Regions from separate parts of the Homo sapiens genome. Here regions 1, 2, 3, 5, 6 and 7 are each linked to region 4. Evidence: promoter capture Hi-C in 16 types of primary human blood cells and fetal thymus (Javierre and others, 2016). All regions are on one chromosome and are shown on one strand. Each heading gives the region's core, a stretch centred on a gene start or on the middle of the fragment in contact. The rest is flanking DNA. Distances are from core to core; before and after follow the strand shown. Region 1 overlaps SUCO (SUN domain containing ossification factor). Region 2 overlaps MRPS14 (mitochondrial ribosomal protein S14). Region 3 has its middle 80 kb from the start of FASLG. Region 4 holds the start of GAS5 (growth arrest specific 5). Region 5 has its middle 3.7 kb from the start of SUCO. Region 6 has its middle 100 kb from the start of FASLG. Region 7 has its middle 64 kb from the start of FASLG.

Region 1 (2,796 bases), core at 227-2,726, 1.3 Mb after region 4:
CACCTTATTAGTGGCATTTCAATTTAAGAGATGTAAGAAAAGGTGGTGTTTCAGGAACTCTGGACACTTGTGCCTAGATGTTTGCAAAACGTTGGTAGAGAAGCCCTAAGGACAGACAATGGACACACAGAGGATAAAAAAAAGAGTAAATAGGTTTAAAAAGCCAGGCCTGGTGTCTTAATGAATTGGCACTGTCTCTGGCACTTAAAAGCAGAAATTATTACAACTAGAACTAGGATGCCGAGACCTGTTTAAAAGAGAGCAAACTGCAAATGTGCCCAATCATCCAGTTCAGTCCATCTCTGTCTTCACTTATCTAAACTCTTAAGTGATATCTGGTCAAATTCCACTAAAAGCTTTAAGGTCTATATACTATCATTTTTTTCCATGAGCCCTCTGGGAATCAAGCAGAAAAAGTGGCTAAAGTTAAGCAACCGAAAAAAGGTGAAAGTGAGTATAGATAATTCAAACTTGTTGCCAGCCTAATAAAAGTGTTTTGTCACTGGAAAGTACTTTTAAAATTAAAAACAAAAAATCAATTCATTAAGGCACTGATCAGCATTCAAGTAGCTTTCTTTCTCTCTCTTGCTAAAATTGCGCTTACCTCTATTATATCATGAGATAATTAAATCCTCTCCTGTAATCACAGGTCATACTCTATGCTGCTTAACTCACTGTGTGAAGCTGACTGTGCTAATTCATAATAAAGCTTACCTTTGGCTAAGCTCCTCCAGATAGCGACCACTGAGAGACATGTTAACTTCTAAGGCTTTAATACGATTATTAAGTCTCATAAATACTGACTCCTTTTGGTTTGATCCATGTACAAGATTTCCATTAGCATATCCTAGATCTGTAGAATTTTGCAATTCAGCATAAAAATCTGTAGCTGTCCTCTGTAACCCTCTCAAAAGGGCATCTTCTGGAGACTGTTCTTCTTCTTTTACTTCAGGTAATGAAGAAGAATCCACAACAGAAATCAAAGTTTGCTTTGCTGTGTCAGCTATATTCATTTTGGCTTCCCCATCTTCATTGTCGGGTACAGTGGCTGTATTTATTGGTGGCACTATTGTTTCAGACAGCTTTGTGAAAATTTGCATGGAGTTCACATCTTCTTTTATAATATTATCCATTAACTCATTAACTTTATTTGTTTCATAGGTAATAGATGGTTTCTCTATAGAACTAAAGCTCTCAGACTTTTGTTCTGTTTCATTATCGATCTCAACAGAACTCTCTTGGGGAATCACTGGTGATGGTATATGTCCTGCCTCATATTCAACAGACTCAGATACTTCTATTTTAGGCAAGGGATTGATTTCTGGGGTAATATCTAAAAGAAGAGACTGAGAAAGAGTTTGAGAATGGCTTGGTTCAAGTTCAACTGCATCTACAGTGTGATTCACCAAGTCATCCTGGTGCATACTACTACTTAAATCACCCAGAACAACAGTTTCAGCTTCCCTTTCTATATTCGTATTTTCCAATTCTCCACTCAGAGGTTGCAATACTGAAACATCTACTGATTCCGCAGGAAGTAGTAAGGGTGGTTGAGCTAACACAAGATAATCTTTTCCTTTACTCAAAGCAGTTCGGCTGCGCTGCCGATAAAGAGCAACTCTAACTGAACACCATTTATATATGTATTCTGAAAAACTAGAAATACAACAAATTGTGGTCAGTTCACTGCAAAATATTTGTGTCTCTGACTCAAACCAGGGTGATGATTCATCTTCCTGTTCACCGCTGCCCAGAAGGGTCACTGTAGATGGACTTGCCTCCTCTTCCTCCTCTTGAACTAACTGTACAATGGGACTCTCTTTTGGAGTATCTGGTGTTGACGGCTCCATGTCATGTGTGTGTACTTCAGTGGTTACATACCTAGAAATACATATATCATAATTATAAATCACTTACTTAGAAGTCTAAAGTTGAAATATGTTAAAGAAAAATAAATGTATCCATACAGAAGATAAAAGGTTGGAAATATAGAAGAAATTTGTTTTTGGATAAATGTTTCACCTACAAAACACTTTTATTATAAAAACAAATACTGCTCAGAAATGATAAGAGAAATACTATTTATCAAGTGACTAGCCAGATGACTCAAACCACCATATTTACCATATCAAACTTGCTTTCTTTTAATCTGTTTAAGAATTGTTTCTAAGTGAATACTTCCATTCACTGAATGTAGTGTTCCTTTCCTCTCATAAATATTCACTGAATCTTTACAAGCTTCACTATCCCTTACACATCAGAAATTAAGCCAACTAAGAGCTAGCTTAATAAACTAGCTTAAATAAGGTCCAGAGCTAAAACTAGAATCTAGGATTCTTAATATTTATGAGTGCACTTTGTACTTGAATACCCTATTTTCAAAAGGCAGCTAGGTTGGTCTCAAACATAATTTTTCTAAGAATGATTTGAGGAACTCCAATACAGCATTAAACACACAACGCACACACACACCTACACACATAGGATTATCTACTTTAAGGACAAGAAACATATCTCCCTTCCTAAAATAATTTTGCTATCATCTAGGCTAATCTTCTAAGCCAAATACCTAACCACTTTAATAACAATTCTGGCTTATGATATGCTAACAGTGCTGCTATTAAACTACTAGTGCCACTATTAATATTCTATCCCATTTTGAGGCTGTGGAGTATGTATGTGGCATACAGGAGAGTGGGGGGATGAAGCTTATGGGGACAGTGTTATAAATTATAATGCTTGTGATTCCTTCCAAGATAAAGATAGTTAATTACTGGGTGTAGCCTTATACATAAA
Region 2 (2,836 bases), core at 215-2,714, 1.1 Mb before region 4:
ATGACATTGTATGCCTTAAATATATGCAATTTTTATTTGTCAACTATACATTAATACAGCTGGGGGTGTGTTGTTTGAGTACCTTTATGAAGATACCCAGAAGACATGTCTCTGGTATGACTAGCAGCAATAACTGTGCAGAGTCTGTGAATCATGTAAACTGATCATGGTTCTCTGCTGCCTGCCAAGTAGCTTACAAGTCAAATTTATGTCCCAGTTCTAATTTCACAGCATGCACTTTTGTGTCCTGAGGCTTTTATCTTTCCTACTCTCATTTCTCTTTGCCCCAGTTTCCTCATTTGTAAACTGCCTTAAATCTTTCGGGGAACAAGAAGGAAGGGGTATGTATCAATCAATCAATCCATAATTTCTAGCCATTCTTTAAGGTCCACCTCCATGAAACTTGGCTTCAATCTTCTTGCCCAGTCATTTCTCCTCTCCAGTTCCTTGTATAGCATTTATTGTTTACTACTCAATGGCTCAATCATGGTTTTTTTTTGTTTTTTTTTTTTTGAGATGGGGTTTTGCTCTTGTTGCCCAGGCTGGAGTGCAGTGGCACAATCTGGGCTCACCACATCTGCCTCCTGGGTTCAAGCGATTCTGCTGCCTTAGCCTCCCGGCCAGATGGGATTACAGGCATGTGCCACCACACCCAGCTAATTTTGTATTTTTAGTAGAGATGGGGTTTCCCTATGTTGGTCAGGCTGGTCGCGAACTCTTGACCTCAGATGATCCGCCTGCCTCGGCGTCCCAAAGTGCTGGGATTATAGGCGTGAGCCACTGTGCCTGGCAATCATGTTGTTTTATGTAATTCTGTTAGTTCATAATGGTAACACATGCATAAGCTTTTGTTAATTTTTGGCTTTTATATACTTTCATTTAATTTGTGTTATTTTAATGTGTTATTTTGCTTGCACCGCAGTCTAGCACAGGGTCCATCTACTTGTTAGCACACTTATCAGATTAAAGTGAATATTATGAACACTCACACTCTTGAACACATACATAAGAAGAAATCTCTACTGACAAAACCTGAGCCCTAGCTACTGCTGTAATCCCTACTTTTCTCCCCTCAACCACTTTGCCCTTACCTGATTCATCCTCTACCTTGCAAATGATTTTTTTTAAATATAAACCTCATCTGATCTCTCCCCTTTACTTCTCTAGCTGTCAGAATCTTTACCATAGACATCAGGGCTCCATGTGATACTCTCCTTCCTCCTTCTCTAGTCTTATCTCAAGCCACATTCCCTCCTATTTGATCATCATTCCAGAGGTTTCACTTTCGTGATTCAAAAAACATGAGGCGGCAACAGAAATACATTCACATACTTTACAAATGAGTTAAACAAGAGTATGTAGCTGCACTATTTATATTCGCCCAAATCGTAAGATGACCATCAAATGTAGGATGGATAAATGAATTATGGTACTCATGCAATGAACATTACCTGCCAGTGGCCAGGCGCTGTGGCTCACACCTGTAATCCTAGCACTTTGGGAGGCAGAGATGGGCGGATTGCCAGAGCTCAGGAGTTTGAGACCAGCCTGGGCAACGTGGTGAAACCCCGTTTCTACTAATAATACAAAAAATTAGCTGAGTGTGGTAGTGCACACCTGTAATCTCAGCTACTCGGGAGGCTGAGGCAGGAGAATCACTTGAACCCAGGAGGCGGAGGTTGCAGTGAGCTGAGATTGTGACATTGCACAATCTAACACCCACAGCCTGGGTGACAGAGCGAGACTCTGTCTCAAAAAAAAAAAAAAAAGAAAAGAAAATTACCTGCAAGTGAGAAGGAGCAAAATACATGTGCAACAATGTAATGTGATCTGTGTAATAATGTGATTTCCCTTAGGATGTGGCTGATGAAGAAATTGCTGCCCTCCCCCGGGATAGCTGTCCTGTTAGAATCAGAAATCGGTGTGTTATGACGTCCCGTCCGCGTGGTGTGAAGCGGCGCTGGAGGCTTAGTCGTATAGTCTTCCGTCACTTAGCTGACCATGGGCAACTTTCTGGGATCCAGCGAGCGACATGGTAAATGAGCTCCAGAACCTATTGAGCTTGCAGGGAAGCCAAGCTTGCAGTTCCAGCAAGCAAAGATTTTTTTTAATAGACCAAACCCTAATCTCTACAGGGGCCCAGTACAGTTGTTTGGCCTACCTGATGCTATCTCTAAACTACTTTTAAAATGAAGACATTTGGGTGTTTCATGTCAGTGAATTATCTTTTCTCTTGGACTTAACAAACATACTGTTCCCATACATAGTACAAAGAGTAGCATAATAAATATTTTCTGTGAATGTTTTTTATACCCTCCTTTTAAGTTTAATCTTTTAGTAACATATAGGGGTTTTTGTATTAAGAGCATTATTTCATAAAATGCTATCTTATACATAATCCAACTAATTGACATGTAGCTCATGTATGGCAGTTTGTAATCCTGGACTAGCTTTGCTGACCTGCAGAGCTCCCCTTAACTATTATTGTTAGATAAACAGATTGGATAGCAAGGCTGCTGTTCTGGATTATCTAATGCTCCACTTCTTCTTGTGATGGCTGAACAAAAGAACCACTAAGTGTTTTCTTGTCCATCCTTAAGGGACTTTAAAACAAATTATGCCTCTTTAAGTCCTTGAAAGTCTCCATCTAAAGAGGAAAAGTTTGTTGGAACAGTATATATTCCCTATTTTTATGTTTATTTAATCCATAACAGAAATGAGTAAGGGTAGCACAAAGTTCTCATTCAGTAACTCAACAGTGTGATCATCAGCCCAGTGATAAAAATATACATACTGAATGGAAGTACCTACTTAACATCAGGAAAATATTCCTGGA
Region 3 (2,700 bases), core at 22-2,521, 1.1 Mb after region 4:
GTTTTTGAAATGGAGTCTCGCTCTGTCACCCAGGCAGGAGGGCAGTGGCACAGTCTCAGCTCACTGCAACCTCTCCCTCCCAGGTTCAAGTGATTCTCCTGCCTCAGCCTCCCAAGTAGCTGGGACTACAGGTGCACACTACCACACCTGGCTAATATTTTGTATTTTTAGTAGAGACACATTTCCCCATGTTGGCCAGGCTGGTCTCAAACTCCTGACCTCAAGTGATCTGCCTGTCTCAGCTTCTCAAAGTGCTGAGATTACAGGGATGAGCCACCACACCTAGCCCTGAATGGATTTTTTTAAACCCTAACTATATGCTCTTTATAAGATACTTACTTCAGCTTCTAGGACATGTATAGACTGAAAGTGAAGGGATAGAAAAAGACATTCCATGAAAATGGAAAGGAAAAGATAGCAAATGTAGCTATACTTACGTCAAAATAGACTTTAAGTCAAAACTGTAAAAAGAAACAAAGAAGGCAATTTTTAATGACAAAGGAATCAATATATTAAGAAGATATAACAATTATAAATATATATGCAGGCGACATCAGAGTGCCTAAATACATAAAACACATACTAATAGATCTGAAGGGAGGAATAGACAGTAAAACAATAATAGTGGAGGACTTCAATACCTCACTTTCAACAATTAATAGATCATTCATACAATCAATGAGGAAATATTGGACTTAAACTACACTTTAGACCAAATGGACCTAACAGATGTATACAAAACACTCTCTCCAACAGAAGCATGTACACATTTGTCTTGAGTGCACATGAAACATTCTCTGGGATAGATCATATGTTAGGCCACAAAAGAAGTATTTAAATATGTTAGAAAATTGTAATCATACCAAGTATCTTCTCTGATCACAATGGTATGAAAATAGAAATTAATAACAGGAAAATTCAAAAATATGTGGAAGTTAAATAATGTGTTCCTGAACAGTTAATGGGTAAAGAAAAGAAATCAAAGGGGAAATTTTAAAATATCTTGAGACAAACAAAAATGGAAACAAACATACTAAAACTTAAGGGATGTAGCAAAAGCAGTTATAAGAGGGAAGTTCACGGTAGTTAATGCCTACATTAAAAAGAAAGAACTCAAGTAAACAACTTAATGTTACACTTCAAGGAACTAGAAAGAGAAGAACAAACTAAGCCCAAAGTTGATAGAAGAAAGATCCAAGCAGAAATAAGTGAAACAGAGACTAGAAAGCAATATAAAAGATCAATGAAACCAAAAGGTTTTTTTGAGAAGATTTTTAAAATTCAGCTACACTAAGAAAAAAAGAAAGAAAACTCAAATAAAATCAGTAATGAAAGAAGAGACGTTATGACAAATACCACAGAAATACAAAGGATTGTAAGAGACTACAAGAAACAATTATACACCAAAAAACTGAACAGTCTATAAGAAATGGATAAATCCTAAATATGTATGTGTATATATATATATATATATATATATATATATATATATATATATATATACATAAAACTTATCAAGTCTGAAACAAAAAGAAATAGAAAATCTGAACATACCAATAATGAGTAATAAGATTAAATCAGGAATCAAAAATCTCCCATCAAATTAAAGCCCAATAATAGATGGCCTCACTGGTGAATTCTATTAAGCATTGAAAGAGGAATGAATACCAATCATTCTCACTCTCCCAAAAAAATCGAAGAGGAGGGAAAACTTACAAAGGGATTTTTATGAGGCTAGTACTATCCTGATGCTAAAGTCAGACAAAGACACTACAAGAAAAGATTACAGGTCAATATTCCTGATGAACGTAAATGCAAAAATCCTCTGACAAAACAGCTACAAATTGAATTAAACAGCACATTAAAAGAATCCTACACTATAATCAAATGAGATTTATCCCTATGATGCAAGGATGGTTCAACAAATGTAAATCACTAAATGTGATGCACCACATTAACAGAATGAAGGATTACAATTGTATGATCATCTCAATAGATGCAGAAAAAGCATTTGAAAAAAAAATCAGTATGCTTCTATGACAAAAACTCCCAACAAATTGCGTTTAGCAATAATGTACTTCCACACGATAAGGTCATATATCACAAGCCTACAGCTAACATTCTATTCAATAGTGAAAAGTTGGAAGCCTTTCCTCTAGGATCAGGAACAAGATAAGGATACCAACTCCCACCACTTATATTCAACATTGTACTGGAAGTCCTAGGCAGAGAAATTATGAAAGAAAAAGAAATAAAAGCCATCTAAATCAGAAAAGAAGAAGTAAAATTGTCTCTCTTTGCAGATGACGTGGCCATATATAGAAAACTTTAAAGACTCCAAACACAAAAAAACTGTTAGAACTAACAAGTGAATTCACTAAAGTTACAAAACAGAAAATCGACATACAAAAATAAGTTGCATTTTTATACATTAACAATTAACTATTCAAAAAAGAAATTAAGAAAACAATTCAATTTACTATAGCATCAAAAAGAAGAAAATACTTAGGAATAAATTTAACCAGGGAGATGAAAGATCTGTATACTGAAAACTTTAAAACATTAATGAAAGGAGTGGAAGAAAAAGAAACCACAAATAAATGGAAAGATATCTTGTGTTTATGTATTATAGAATCAATATCAAAATGTTCATACTACCCAAAGTGATCTACAGATTCAATGTAATATTCCACCAGCAAA
Region 4 (2,964 bases), core at 245-2,744:
CTTCCATCCTGAAACTTAGTTCTCCAGATCCGATGAAAAAATACAGCATTTACCAAGTATGCCAACATTTTTCCATTAAAATATTTTTAAAAAATGGCTGAAACACTAAACCTGAAGCTGTATACAAGATAGTTGAAAGTACAGTTTCAACTACTGAAAATAGTTTGTATAAATCCGAACAGGAAGACATTTACTTAAGCCCAATGTGCGTTCACTTATCTATATATTACATAGTTACACCACACCTGAAACTTCAGGAACTTACTCTGCCAAGCTCACAGTACTGCCCCGCATTAACAACACACTTATTAAATAGGGAAGTGTATACACTGTTTTCAACAATCAACTTTAGCCAATCTGACCTTTTTCCAAAGCGTTATTGTTTGTTTTGAAACTTTTAATCCAATAAGAGCCTCTGTCGATGCCATCATGAATTCAGATGTGTTTATTTTGGAGCCTACACCAGCGCCTTTTTTGTTTGCTCTTTCCGGCAATTCCCCAGTGAGGAAGCCCCTGGAGGAAAGTCTTTCGCTACCGTCGGCACTGGAGGGGTGAGAGCTGTAAAAGGGAGAATTGGGAACGGCATGGGGTTGGCCACTCCAGCACTTGAGCAGCTTTCTTCTGCGTTAGGAAGCCTGGGGAGAGGGGAACTGGCTAAAGGGCAAAATGTCACTGAGGAACTTCGGAGAAGATGGGGACAAGGCGTCGGGCGGGGGAGCCAGCGCTCAGGTGAGAACTAGGAAGGGGGCGGCGCCCAGGGACCGGCTCCAGGCGGCGGCGGGCGGGGAGCTGCCAGGAGGTGGGTGTGCGTATCTGGGTGTGTCCCGGCTGCGGTGGGGGAGGGGGCCGCCCTTCCCGGGGTCCTGAGGGAGGGGCCCCGCGAGGGGGCGGGTCCGGCAGATCAGCCCGGCCGGGGGCCAAGGGGGTGGAAGGTCGCCCGGTGCCTGGAGGCGGGGTGAAGGAAAGTAGCTGAGCGCCCCAGGAGCGCGCTGCGGCGGAGGGCGGGCGAGGTGACCCCGGTGCAGGGAAGTGGCACTGGGGTGTGGGGCCCGAGTCCAGTCAAGGAGCAGCACCTACCTCCGGGGGTGGAAATGGGCCGGAATGGGCCGGAACACCGTCCCGGAAGTGAAATCCCCCACCCCCTCCCACGGAGCGGGCGACGTGCCGGAAGGAAATCACTCAGCCTTACACCGCCCCCCCTTCCCCCATCCCCAGAGCTTTCCTTGCCTCGCGCCCCCTCCCCTCTCTGCTCTTCCTCCTCAGTCGGGAGGAGGGCGGGAGCACGGCATCACGTGGACGGTCATGTCTCTGCCCACAATGGCGAGGAAGGGCGGGGAAAAGGGGCGGACTTAAGGGGTGGGAAGAAGGTGATACTGGATGAGAGGAAGATTGAGGGAGGTTAGGGGGAGGAGCCGAAGCGGACGCTGCCGGGAGCGTGCGTCGTGACGTCATCAAAAGAACTCTTATATACAGGAGCCCAGGCACCATACTGTCTTTTCGAGGTAGGAGTCGACTCCTGTGAGGTATGTTTTATCTTTGCGAATGTTGCGGGTTTTGGGGCGCTCCAGCCTTTGTCTGCTAAGGTCACCCTGAATTGACTGGGACTTCTAAGCCAGTCGCGCGCCTTTGCAGGGCCTACAAGTTGAGGATGGTGGGGGATTGCACATATGGTGCATGCGTGACCTAAGCTGCGACTATGTTAGAGTAGAACTGCGGAGAAGCCTCGGCTCTCGTGCCCTGCCTCTGATGAAGCCTGTGTTGGTAGGGACATCTGAGAGTAATGATGAATGCCAACCGCTCTGATGGTGGCACATGCCGAGTCACCCGAGTAAGCTATTGTTAAGGGCCGTGACCCGAGCCTCCATCAGCCGTCCGCTCTCATGAAAGGCTGTCGGTGGTAGTCCACGTGCTTAAGTGCCTGCATTCCGCAGTGTCACCAATATTTCCATTAGTGTTTCTTTTTTCTTTTTTGAGACCGAGCCTCGTTCTGTCACCCAGGCTGGAATGCAGTGGCTCGACATCGGTTAATGGCAACCTCCGCGTCCCGAGTTAAGCAGTTCTGCCTCAGCCTCCCAAGTAACTGGGACTACAGGCGCGCGCCACCATGCTAGGCTTTTATATTTTTAGTAGAGACGGGGTTTCACCATGTTGGCGAGACTGGTCTTGAACTCCTGACCTCAGGTGATCCACCAGCCGTGGTCCCCCAACATACTGGGATTACAAGCCGTGAGCCACCGCGCCCGGCCGCCATCGGTGGTTCTTAACTGCGGGTGCAGTGCTTCTTTGTAACATTAAGTGTATCCTTTACCTGTCGCTAGATAATGAATGGTATGTTACCTGCATCATTGGTTTAAAAAGACGAACCGTTTTTTTAAAGAACACTCTTTAAAAAAAAGAACCGTGGAACAATGAATTAAAATCTGTACCTGATCTCTTTAGGTATGGTGCTGGGTGCAGATGCAGTGTGGCTCTGGATAGCACCTTATGGACAGGTAAGAATTGGGGAAAGTATGGTGGGAAGAATGAAATCTAAGAGGTGGTCTCAGCCTGTGATGCTTTAAGAGTAGTGGACAGAAGGGATTTCTGAAATTCTATTCTGAGGCTTTAATGTTAACAGCATTTATATTTAACGTGACTGCTGTGAGGTTCATTCTCACTGTTTTGCTTGCATCTTTTTGTTTTCTAGTTGTGTCCCCAAGGAAGGATGAGAATAGCTACTGAAGTAAGTTGAAAATTCCCTCTCAAAAAGGTTTAAAGCCATTGGATGTGCCACAATGATGACAGTTTATTTGCTACTCTTGAGTGCTAGAATGATGAGGATCTTAACCACCATTATCTTAACTGAGGCACCCAAAATGGTGAGTTGGGGAACATAGAGAGTACACCTAAGTTCACATGAAGTTGTTTCTTCCCAGGTCCTAAAGAGCAAGCCTAACTCAAGCCATTGGCACACAGGTGAGACAC
Region 5 (3,074 bases), core at 160-2,659, 1.3 Mb after region 4:
TGAAATAAATAGAAGTTCCATAGAGCTGACCTTTAAAGAACTGGTAGACATTTTTCCACATATCTGTTAAATATAATGAGAAAAAGAACAGAGAAAATTTTCTTACAACTCAATAGACAAGTATAAGAAAGTGAGTAATAGTTATATAAAATAAAACTAGTATAGATGAATGTCACCATACTTAAAAGTATAACATATGCCAAAAATGGCAAGAAAGAATATAGAAAAAGAGCATGTATAATGTATAATCTTTCATATATAATATTTAATTATATATATAATCTTTTAAGGCTTAGGCTAAGTAACCACTATCAACCACCCCTTAACTATAATACAGTAATTCTCAACCTGGGGCAGACTTCCCCCCAGGGTGAGATTGGCATTGTGTGAACACATTTTTTGCTTGTCACATTGGAGAAGTACTACTGGCATCTAGTGAGTAGAGGCCAGGGATGCTGTTTCACATCCTACGGTGCACAAGAAAGCCCTCCACAACAAAAATTATTTGGCCAAAAAGTCAAAAGTGCCAAGGTTGAGAAACCCTGCTGTAACAGAATCTCCCAATTCAATAAAATCTATAAAGCACTGACCACACACAGGATAACTCGTTTGCCCTGCAGATCCTTGGATTATTCAGCAAGTCACTAGGGCCTAAACTGCACAATGAACATGAGTTCTCCCATTCCTAAAAGGGTGACTAAACCAGAAACTCTGGGCAGCTCAAGTCCCTGCCTTGATAAAGATCAGATACTCTGTTTGCTTATGGTAAAAGAGAACAAGCAGACCTTAGAAAAGGAACCAACCCCTTCTGGCTATCTCGTTTGTTCTTTATCTCATATACAAATCATATTTAAGACACCCAAGAGAACTGTGTTGTCTAAGATGGTGGTATTTCATGAGCAAGCTTTTATGTATTTTGATTTAGTTGAAAAATTACCTGCTCCTTTCAATATTACAAAATGCTGAGATCCTATATGTCTCCAAAGGATCTTAGAGACCAATGACATTTAGATGCTTCCAGAGTAAAAGTCAGTTAAAACAGAAGTTTCCTGGAAATCAGTCAAAGAAAGGTTGGGGAATGGAAAACAGACAAATGGACAATAAAAGAGACTAAATAAGATGGAAAAATGGTGAATGTGGCAATCAGCACTTAACATTTTAACCGCATAAAAAGTATAAACAGAACTTTTAAAACTGTCCCCCCGATCATCTTCTTTATATATATAAATATGTGTGTAGAATAGCATATACCTTCTTTATTTAGTTACTACCTACCTGAAAAGAGCCTTAACTACTTAGCCTAATCTACCTTAACAGAGCACTGGTAATTTGGCCACTTCAGGAGGTAAAGGTAGAAATCAGAAGAAGACATAGATTGCTTTATTAGTACAGTCTGAGAACTCAGTCTCTTGAGGGCGGGAAGATCTGAGGGCGGGAAGATCACAGAGTGCAATGTTGGCATGCACGGTTCTGTTTTTACTGCAAATAACAAAAGGTAAGATTTCCCTTTTTAAAAATTCTACTTTGTGATCCCAAATTCAGTCTTCTATCACTGCGTTAACATATGTTTATTTTGAAGATACATGAATTGAATAGGCTCATAATGGAATCAACTAGAGGAAGGGAATGATTACATGTGGGTGACAGAGAAGGAGACATCAAAGATGGTCCAATTTCTAAGAACGTATGTGCCATTATATGAGTAGGAAAGTCAGGAGTTGCAGATTTACAATTTAAGAGACTAGTATGGTTTTGGAAGCACAGTATTGAGGTTCTGGTGGAAGTATCTAGCAAGAATTTACAAGTACAAGATTCAAAATAGGGAGAGAAAGTAGCAACTGAAGCAGCATGTTGGGGATTGTAACTGATGCGTCCTTTAGTACCTCCTGTATAACGCTCTCAGATGAAGCTTCCTAAAACATTATCTTCATCATGTCCTTTCTTTGATGCAAAAATCTCCTACAGGTCTGACGTATTTGTGAAATAAAGTCCTGCCTCCTTGGCCTGGCATTCAAAGCTTTCCATAATCAAACCCAGTTGATGTAGTTCAAGCTTTATTTCCCACTGTTTTCTTTCATAACTCAACCTTCTCACCAGACCACACTGTTTATTATGACCTGAAACACCTGTGCCTGCCCTCATGACACTGTTTTTATTTAATAGTCATTTGTCTCCCCAAGCAGTGAATAAATTCCTTATTGCAGAGAGGTCATGTGTTTTATTGATATATATCACACAGTGACTTTTTTTATTACAGAGGCCCAAGAAATAATTTTTTACTTTTTACTTATTTCTTTGTCTAATCACCTTAAATTACAATTTGCCTTATAATTTAAATTCCTAGAAGTAGCAAGCCCTTAGGATGAGAACGTTTTATGCAGTTGACTAGTCTAGAGCACCTAGCCAACTATTTCTTTCTCTATAAATTACCAAATTAGCTTTTTAGCATAACATTATTTGACTTATGTCTGAATAGATTTTCCTAGGTTCTAGTTACCCTAAGTAACCTGGAGAAATAAAGTGTTCAGTAAATATTTATTGAGCCTTTTTTGTATTAAAGATGCTGAGACAGAAATTTGCTCCAGGAAAAGTTTAGCGTTCTAGCAGGGAGTCTTAATCTTCTGAACTGAACCCTTTTGGTAGTCTGGTAAAACCCTTTTCAGAATGTTTATAAAGGTATAAAATAAAACACATAGATTACCAAGGAAACTAATTGTAGGGAAATACAGTTATTAAAATATTACAAAGCAAATTTGTGATCTAATAAGGTGTGCTTTTTCATTAATGCATAAATAACAAGGTCTAACAGCAGGTCTCCTAATGTCAATAATTCCAAAATGGTGATGAGTATAAGAGACATTCCAAGATACCTACAATATGCATAATGTGATATGAAAACATCTGTGATTAATATTGGTGACAAAGTTGTAGATACAGCCAGTACTACCACAGTTTGTTACCTACATTCACAATAAAATCAAATTCTAAATTTCAGTAGAGGTTAGGAGAATGGAGATATAATTATTATTCCCTCCATGGACCTGTGAATTATATACATGGATCCCAACTAAGAA
Region 6 (2,996 bases), core at 317-2,816, 1.1 Mb after region 4:
AAGTGGTGATGGGCAACATACTGTTCAAAGCCCAGTTCTCCCTATACCTAGCATTAGAAAAGGACTGATCTCTCTTTGGGTCAAATAAACCCTGGAAGGAATTCTTAGGGGAATTTAAGAGGGGGAGCTTCAAAAGCTTCTTTTCACTTACAAGAAGAAACTTTAAGAGACAGCATGTGATCACTAGGCCCTACTTCCTTCTCCCATGAGCCCAGCAGCATCCCGGTTAGAGGCCACACCAGCATCCTGGGTCCCACAATGAAGATGACATTGACCAGAGCCTCAACTGGTCAATGATGGACATGTAACTTGAGCAAGAAACAAACCTGTATATCCCACTTGGATTTGGGGGTCATTAGTTACCACAGCATTTTCAAAAGAAAATGTGTTGCAATTCAAGAAAATAATTTGTAAACTAAAAGATGTCTCATATTTGAATAACAAATTTTTTGAGCAATTCATTCTGGTTTACTAAAGAGAGATATAGTATAAAGATAATAGAGGAGTGGAATAAGAGCATCAAAATAAAAGAAATCTAAGGGAGAGAAGTAAGCAATTCATCTTGATTAATTTTATTTTATTTTTAATCAATAACCCCCAACATGGCAGCAATGCAAACCACATAGGCCAGCTGGTCAGAACAGTACCCACTGAGAGATGGACAGTTTTGTGGGAGGTGATTCCACTTTAGAAATTCAAGGTGTAGAGAACACAGCAGCATATCTGCTCTGTGCAGTATTGAGACATGGGTAGGAGCAAGAGGATACCCTTCCAGTATGTAATTAAAGCACTTGTGTGACTGTGGGCGTTAGATCAAACTTCCTACATAAACAGGATCTACATGTGAGAACACTTTCAAAGGTTGAATGTTGAGCTTTGCTAGAGACAGAGCAGCAGGTGGGCAGCCAGCCAACCAGTCACATGGGACTGAAACTGACGTTCTGAAGCCCATTAGGCTCCTCACAATGTTCTGCATTGGCTCAGCCCACTCAAATACAAACCCAAGTGAGGTGCTTCTCACCTGTGGGTTGCCCCTACGCAAACCCCAACTGTGCATCTGATCTAATCTGAAGAGACCTTTTATACAGAGAATAGACTTGGTCAAACACACCTCCCTCATGGGAAAATGGCATCTCTGCCCAAGAGCATGATTTTCCCTGGGGAACTACCAAATTATTTGTTCTCACTAAAAGGGTGGAATGATAGGATTGTTAAGAAAGCTGACTGCTTTTCCATCTGTTTATCAAGCCAACTGCCTGACTTAAGGTGTCTATGATTATACAATTAGGTAGCTGTAACCCAAGCCCCCTGGCCTATGCTGGGTAGCAACTAAAGTATCTTTGATCTCTTCAGCCTCTGAACTGTGTTGACATGGCTCCAAGGCTCCCAAGTCTCATCCTTTCTCTAGTAACCCAGTGTCTACTGCTCTGTTGAATGGATGCTGATGTCTGTCACTGTGGGTTCTATCCCTACAGCTGGTGTTCTTCTCAATAAAATGGTGACCACTTGGCTGTGGACCCCAACTCCCACCAGAAGTGAGAGACTAGCCCACAGTAGTTGCAAGCCTCACCAATATGATGCCTACATCCCCTGCCCTAGCTCTGAGTCAATACCCAAAGGAGGTTTAATGCTTTATCTCACAGCGTTCTTTATCAAAGAATCCGGGACATAGTCCCAAAGATTAGGCCAGAATGCATTAAAGTAACACCATACTAGGATCAACTCAAAACTGATCCCCCTAATTATAAGCCAGCATCCCAGCCACCACGACATTTTATATTAGTGGCACTCACTGCCCATCTCCCAAGACATCTCTCTTCCTATCCTGCAAGTCATTGTTCTCTATCTAAATAACTCTTTATTCGGTATCATCAGTTCCAGAATGTCTCTCTCTAGTTAGCCCAGGAGACCCTAATGCAAACAGTACCTGTGGTCTGTCCTCATATAGCAAGTTTCCTGAGGTGGGCATGCAAATTAAGCTCCTGGGCACCCCTAGGTAAAGCCTTCCTTTACAATGTACCAGCCCTGAGAATGAAGAGATGAAGAAAATGCTACCCAAGTCTTCAAGGAGCTCTAAGTCTAGTAAGCAGACAAGTCCATAAGCAGACAATTCCTTGAGAAAGCACAATGTTACCGATGACATAGATCATAGCACAGAGTAAGGACAATTTTGGTAAACCATAATTGTTGGAAAGAACCAAGGAATTCCCCAGCTGGGATCAGGGACAGCACCTTCTGTAGCCTTACAGTGGATTCTGTGGGATAGAGACGAATTGAACTTGTGGGAAAGGGGAAAACAGATTTATTCATTTGGGTATTTGGTTTTCCCTTCTGTCAGGTTGCCAGAATCATTACTTTCATGAATAATTTGCTGTCCTAATACAACTGTGCTTTCTGAATAGCTCACTAGAGAATGACAAATCTAACTTCCAAGGAAGAATCTTCATGAAAACAAACAAAAAAAAATGAGCTGAACCAATTACATCATGTCAGCATGCAAATACAGAACCTAGAACAATAAACTTATAATGATTGAAAGCAACGATTATATATTATGTTCATATTACGGAAACACAGTCAAAGTAGTTTAGTCCCCACAATGCCAACAGGTACTTTATTACAAAAAAACACCTAGGTTCTTCAAAAGTTTCCCAAAGTCAACTACAGAAACAAGAACAGAACCCCATTTTTATTAACACATATAATAAACCTAGGGAATACTAAAGGGTGAACTTGATCTCAAAACCGTTTATGTCTCTTCCTTTCTTCCTCCCACTTTCTGAGGACATAGGAGAAGTTATGGCAATAGGCGTGTTTAGGAGGACGTGGCTATGTATGGACTTGAGGAACCCGCCTGTCTTTTCTAAAGGCATCTGAAGACACCAGCATTTTCCTGAGCTGGGAGAATGAGAAACAAGAGGAATTATGAATGTAGCTAGGAGGAGAAAGAGTAGTATTGATAGAGGCTGGCAATAAATCAGATTTCTCAAGCTTAT
Region 7 (2,700 bases), core at 7-2,506, 1.1 Mb after region 4:
CTTTAGAGACTTCTTTCTGTGATTATACACACACAAATACACAAATATTCTTTTTATTTTTTAATTTTTAAAATTTTTAGACATTTAGGGGGTACAAGCACAGATTTCTTACATGTATATATTGCTTAGTGGTGATGTCTGTTCTTTTAGTGTACCCATGACCTGAATAGTGAACATTGTACCCAATGGGTAATTTTTCAACTCTTACCATGTCCCTCCCACTCTCCCATTTTGTTATCTCCAATGTCTATTTTTCCATTCTCTATGTCCATGACATACACATATATTGTTCTTAAATGAGACTGTGCTATGCATATTGGACTGAAATTGCTAAAAGCATCTCATACTCATGCTTTCAGGTCACTATTTATGGGTCACCATACCAAAGCTCCTGGGAGATTTCCCTGTTATTTCAGAGTCCTGAAAATGAATACTGCTATATATAAAAAAACACTTTCTATAAGACTTCCTTAATCCTTTTCAGGAAGAGTAAAGTATCTCTTCAACTGTTTTCCTAAAACATGTGTGTTGCTTATATATTCACTGTATCCCTAATTACATTCTTTTAGTATAGGTGCCAGTTACTGGTAACAACAAAAAAATCAACCTCTGCCAGAATATTTAAAGAGGTTTATTCTGAGCCAATATGAGTGACTATGGCCTGGGGAAACTGTCTCAAGAGGTCCCGAGAAAGTGTGCCCAAGGCAGTTGGGTTAACGTTTGGGAGGGAGACAGAAATTGCATGTCAAAACATAAACGAATACATGGGAGTTGTACATTGAGTCTATTCAAAAAGGCAGGACATCTGGCAGTGAGAGCTTACAAGACACAGGTGAGTTTAGGGATTATTTAGTTGGCAATTGGTTGAAAGAGTTGAGCTTTGTCTAAAAACTTGGAGTCAGTAGAAAGGAATGCTTCAGTTAAGACAAGGGGGTCTGTTTTCTGTTACATGATGCCATACCAGAGTCTGGTTGCAAAAGTAAGCCACAATATACTGGGTCAAAAAAACTTGTTTAACATAATTTTATGTCTTGTAGATTTGACTCCCTGTGGGCCCTTAAAAAGAAATCTGAGAAAGTAAAAATGTCAGAGTTCAGTCCTTACCTGTTTTTTTCCACTAGACTGCAAAGTTCTTACTGAAAAAGGCCTTCCCTACTCTTGACACCTGGACTTCCAAGGGTCTGGAATAAGGCCAATCAAGCCACAATATCTGAAAGAACATGCGATGGGAAGTCAGATCTGAGATTTACGCTCTACCCTGCTAATAATTTGCACCTCATGTGGAGAAGTTCCAGCCCACCTGGATTGTCGCTTCTTCGTTTTTAAAATCTGTTTACATTCAAGGACTGGGATAAACTAGATGTCCTTTAAGGCCACTTCAAACTTTAACATGCGAAACACAAAACTGATGTCTGCAACATGGAATAGTAATAGCTAAAGAGAAAAATGCTTACTATCAAAATATTATTGTTGTCTGACACTAAAATACATATTTTGTGTATGAGACAGGGTCTTGCTGTGTTGCCCAGGCTAGAGTGCAGTGGCACGATCTCTGCTCGCTGCAGCCTCAACCTTCCAGGCTCAAGTGATCCTCCTGCCTCAGCCTCCTGAAGAGCTGGGACTACAGGAATGCACCACCATGCCTGGATAATTTTTGTATTTTTTATAGAGACAGTGCTTTGCCATATTGCCTAGACTGATCTCAAACTCCTGGGCTCAAGCAATCTGCCTGCCTTGGCCTTCCAAAGTGCTAGGATTACAGGTGTGTGCCACTGTGCCCTGCCTGTAAAATACACATTTTAGTCAGTAAAAGTTAGTTACATGTAACTATTCTTATTTGTATGTGAATAACTCTTAAATTCCCATCAGCAACATAGTTAGAAATTATTCCTTAGAGTAGGATATTTTACAGATGGCTTTGTGGCAGGCCAATTCTCCCTGACAATCACACAGACAGGCCTGCATGACAGTCACACAGACAGGCCTACATAGCACTCCAGTTACACAGACAAATTTCCATAGCACTGTCTTACCATTGAGCAAATAGTCAAACCTAGGGAAATCAATGCCCAGACATCAAAACTAGAAATGAAACATATGGTCAGTAGGAACCTTGCATGGGCTTCTCCCTAACCTGGAGCAAACCAAAATAATAGAGACAGTCTTACATTCCTACTGCCAGGACCCATCTTGCATTGACAAAATCTGAGACAAGTCAAGGTAACAGAGGCAGCTGTTTGAATAGATTCATCGGAGAGTCTAAGGCAGCTCTCCGGACCAAGCTGTAAAGGAGATGAGATAGAAATAATCACTCTGGTACCGCAGTAGACAGGCCTTGAAGGTACTGGGGCCCTTTTAATTGGACTTAGCAAGCAATTTTTGCCTCTGACCTTCTAGTTGAAACAGAATCAGTTACCAATAGACTTAGGCGAATGCTATACTGCACATAGGCACATAGCCCCAACCTATATAAGCGCTAAGAAAATTGTAACACTTTGAGTTGGTGGAATTACCTCCGGCCTTCTCTGTGTATCTGGTTACAGTGATAAATTCCCTTCTTTCCTAGTTTGTCTGCTTCTCATTATTGGGACTGGAGAAAACGCAGTCGGACCTGGCTTGGTTCCGGGAATAGCTTGGCAAACAAAATGTACTAATAATTGATTGATTTTCATTATTTTGTTTTTTAAAAGGCAACTTTTC

What was found. The method cuts DNA at HindIII sites, captures the fragments that hold promoters and counts their contacts. A CHiCAGO score of 5 or more calls a contact.
Region 1: a contact is called between a fragment that was not itself captured here and the fragment with the promoter of GAS5 in region 4, in 1 of 17 cell types (monocytes). The highest score is 5.1, in monocytes.
Region 2: a contact is called between a fragment that was not itself captured here and the fragment with the promoter of GAS5 in region 4, in 1 of 17 cell types (neutrophils). The highest score is 7.8, in neutrophils.
Region 3: a fragment that was not itself captured here is called in contact with the fragment with the promoter of GAS5 in region 4 in 2 of 17 cell types (monocytes and total B cells); the score reaches 7.6 in monocytes.
Region 5: a contact is called between a fragment that was not itself captured here and the fragment with the promoter of GAS5 in region 4, in 5 of 17 cell types (activated CD4 T cells, total CD8 T cells, non-activated CD4 T cells and 2 more). The highest score is 6.4, in activated CD4 T cells.
Region 6: a contact is called between a fragment that was not itself captured here and the fragment with the promoter of GAS5 in region 4, in 1 of 17 cell types (naive CD4 T cells). The highest score is 6.5, in naive CD4 T cells.
Region 7: a fragment that was not itself captured here is called in contact with the fragment with the promoter of GAS5 in region 4 in 5 of 17 cell types (naive B cells, monocytes, total B cells and 2 more); the score reaches 7.3 in naive B cells.

Annotation. Positions count from the first base shown.
Region 1 is chr1:172,587,845-172,590,640 of GRCh38, reverse strand. SUCO (SUN domain containing ossification factor) reads right to left here. Exons shown (of 24, transcript NM_014283.5): 18 at 715-1,881. Among named protein-coding and RNA genes, the nearest start is that of SUCO, 56 kb to the right of the region's middle. The HindIII fragment of the contact is 1,529 bases long and covers 712-2,240 here.
Region 2 is chr1:175,013,872-175,016,707 of GRCh38, reverse strand. MRPS14 (mitochondrial ribosomal protein S14) reads left to right here. Exons shown (of 3, transcript NM_022100.3): 3 at 1,857-2,836. The coding sequence ends at 2,039. Among named protein-coding and RNA genes, the nearest start is that of MRPS14, 8.1 kb to the left of the region's middle. The HindIII fragment of the contact is 1,233 bases long and covers 848-2,080 here.
Region 3 is chr1:172,737,974-172,740,673 of GRCh38, reverse strand. No RefSeq gene overlaps it. Among named protein-coding and RNA genes, the nearest start is that of FASLG, 80 kb to the right of the region's middle. The HindIII fragment of the contact is 5,998 bases long and covers 1-2,700 here.
Region 4 is chr1:173,866,519-173,869,482 of GRCh38, reverse strand. GAS5 (growth arrest specific 5) reads left to right here and starts at 1,494. Exons shown (of 12, transcript NR_002578.4): 1 at 1,494-1,523; 2 at 2,440-2,492; 3 at 2,687-2,722; 4 at 2,916-2,955. ZBTB37 (zinc finger and BTB domain containing 37) reads right to left here and starts at 1,103. Exons shown (of 5, transcript NM_001122770.3): 1 at 1,078-1,103; 2 at 363-558. SNORD75 (small nucleolar RNA, C/D box 75) reads left to right here and starts at 2,545; the gene lies at 2,545-2,604. It overlaps SNORD74 (small nucleolar RNA, C/D box 74), which reads left to right and starts at 1,738; the gene lies at 1,738-1,809. It also overlaps SNORD76. RefSeq lists an enhancer at 1-1,024 and a silencer at 659-1,068. The HindIII fragment of the contact is 5,638 bases long and covers 1-2,964 here.
Region 5 is chr1:172,527,873-172,530,946 of GRCh38, reverse strand. No RefSeq gene overlaps it. Among named protein-coding and RNA genes, the nearest start is that of SUCO, 3.7 kb to the left of the region's middle. The HindIII fragment of the contact is 1,005 bases long and covers 907-1,911 here.
Region 6 is chr1:172,762,509-172,765,504 of GRCh38, reverse strand. No RefSeq gene overlaps it. Among named protein-coding and RNA genes, the nearest start is that of FASLG, 100 kb to the right of the region's middle. The HindIII fragment of the contact is 2,855 bases long and covers 139-2,993 here.
Region 7 is chr1:172,721,675-172,724,374 of GRCh38, reverse strand. No RefSeq gene overlaps it. Among named protein-coding and RNA genes, the nearest start is that of FASLG, 64 kb to the right of the region's middle. The HindIII fragment of the contact is 6,552 bases long and covers 1-2,700 here.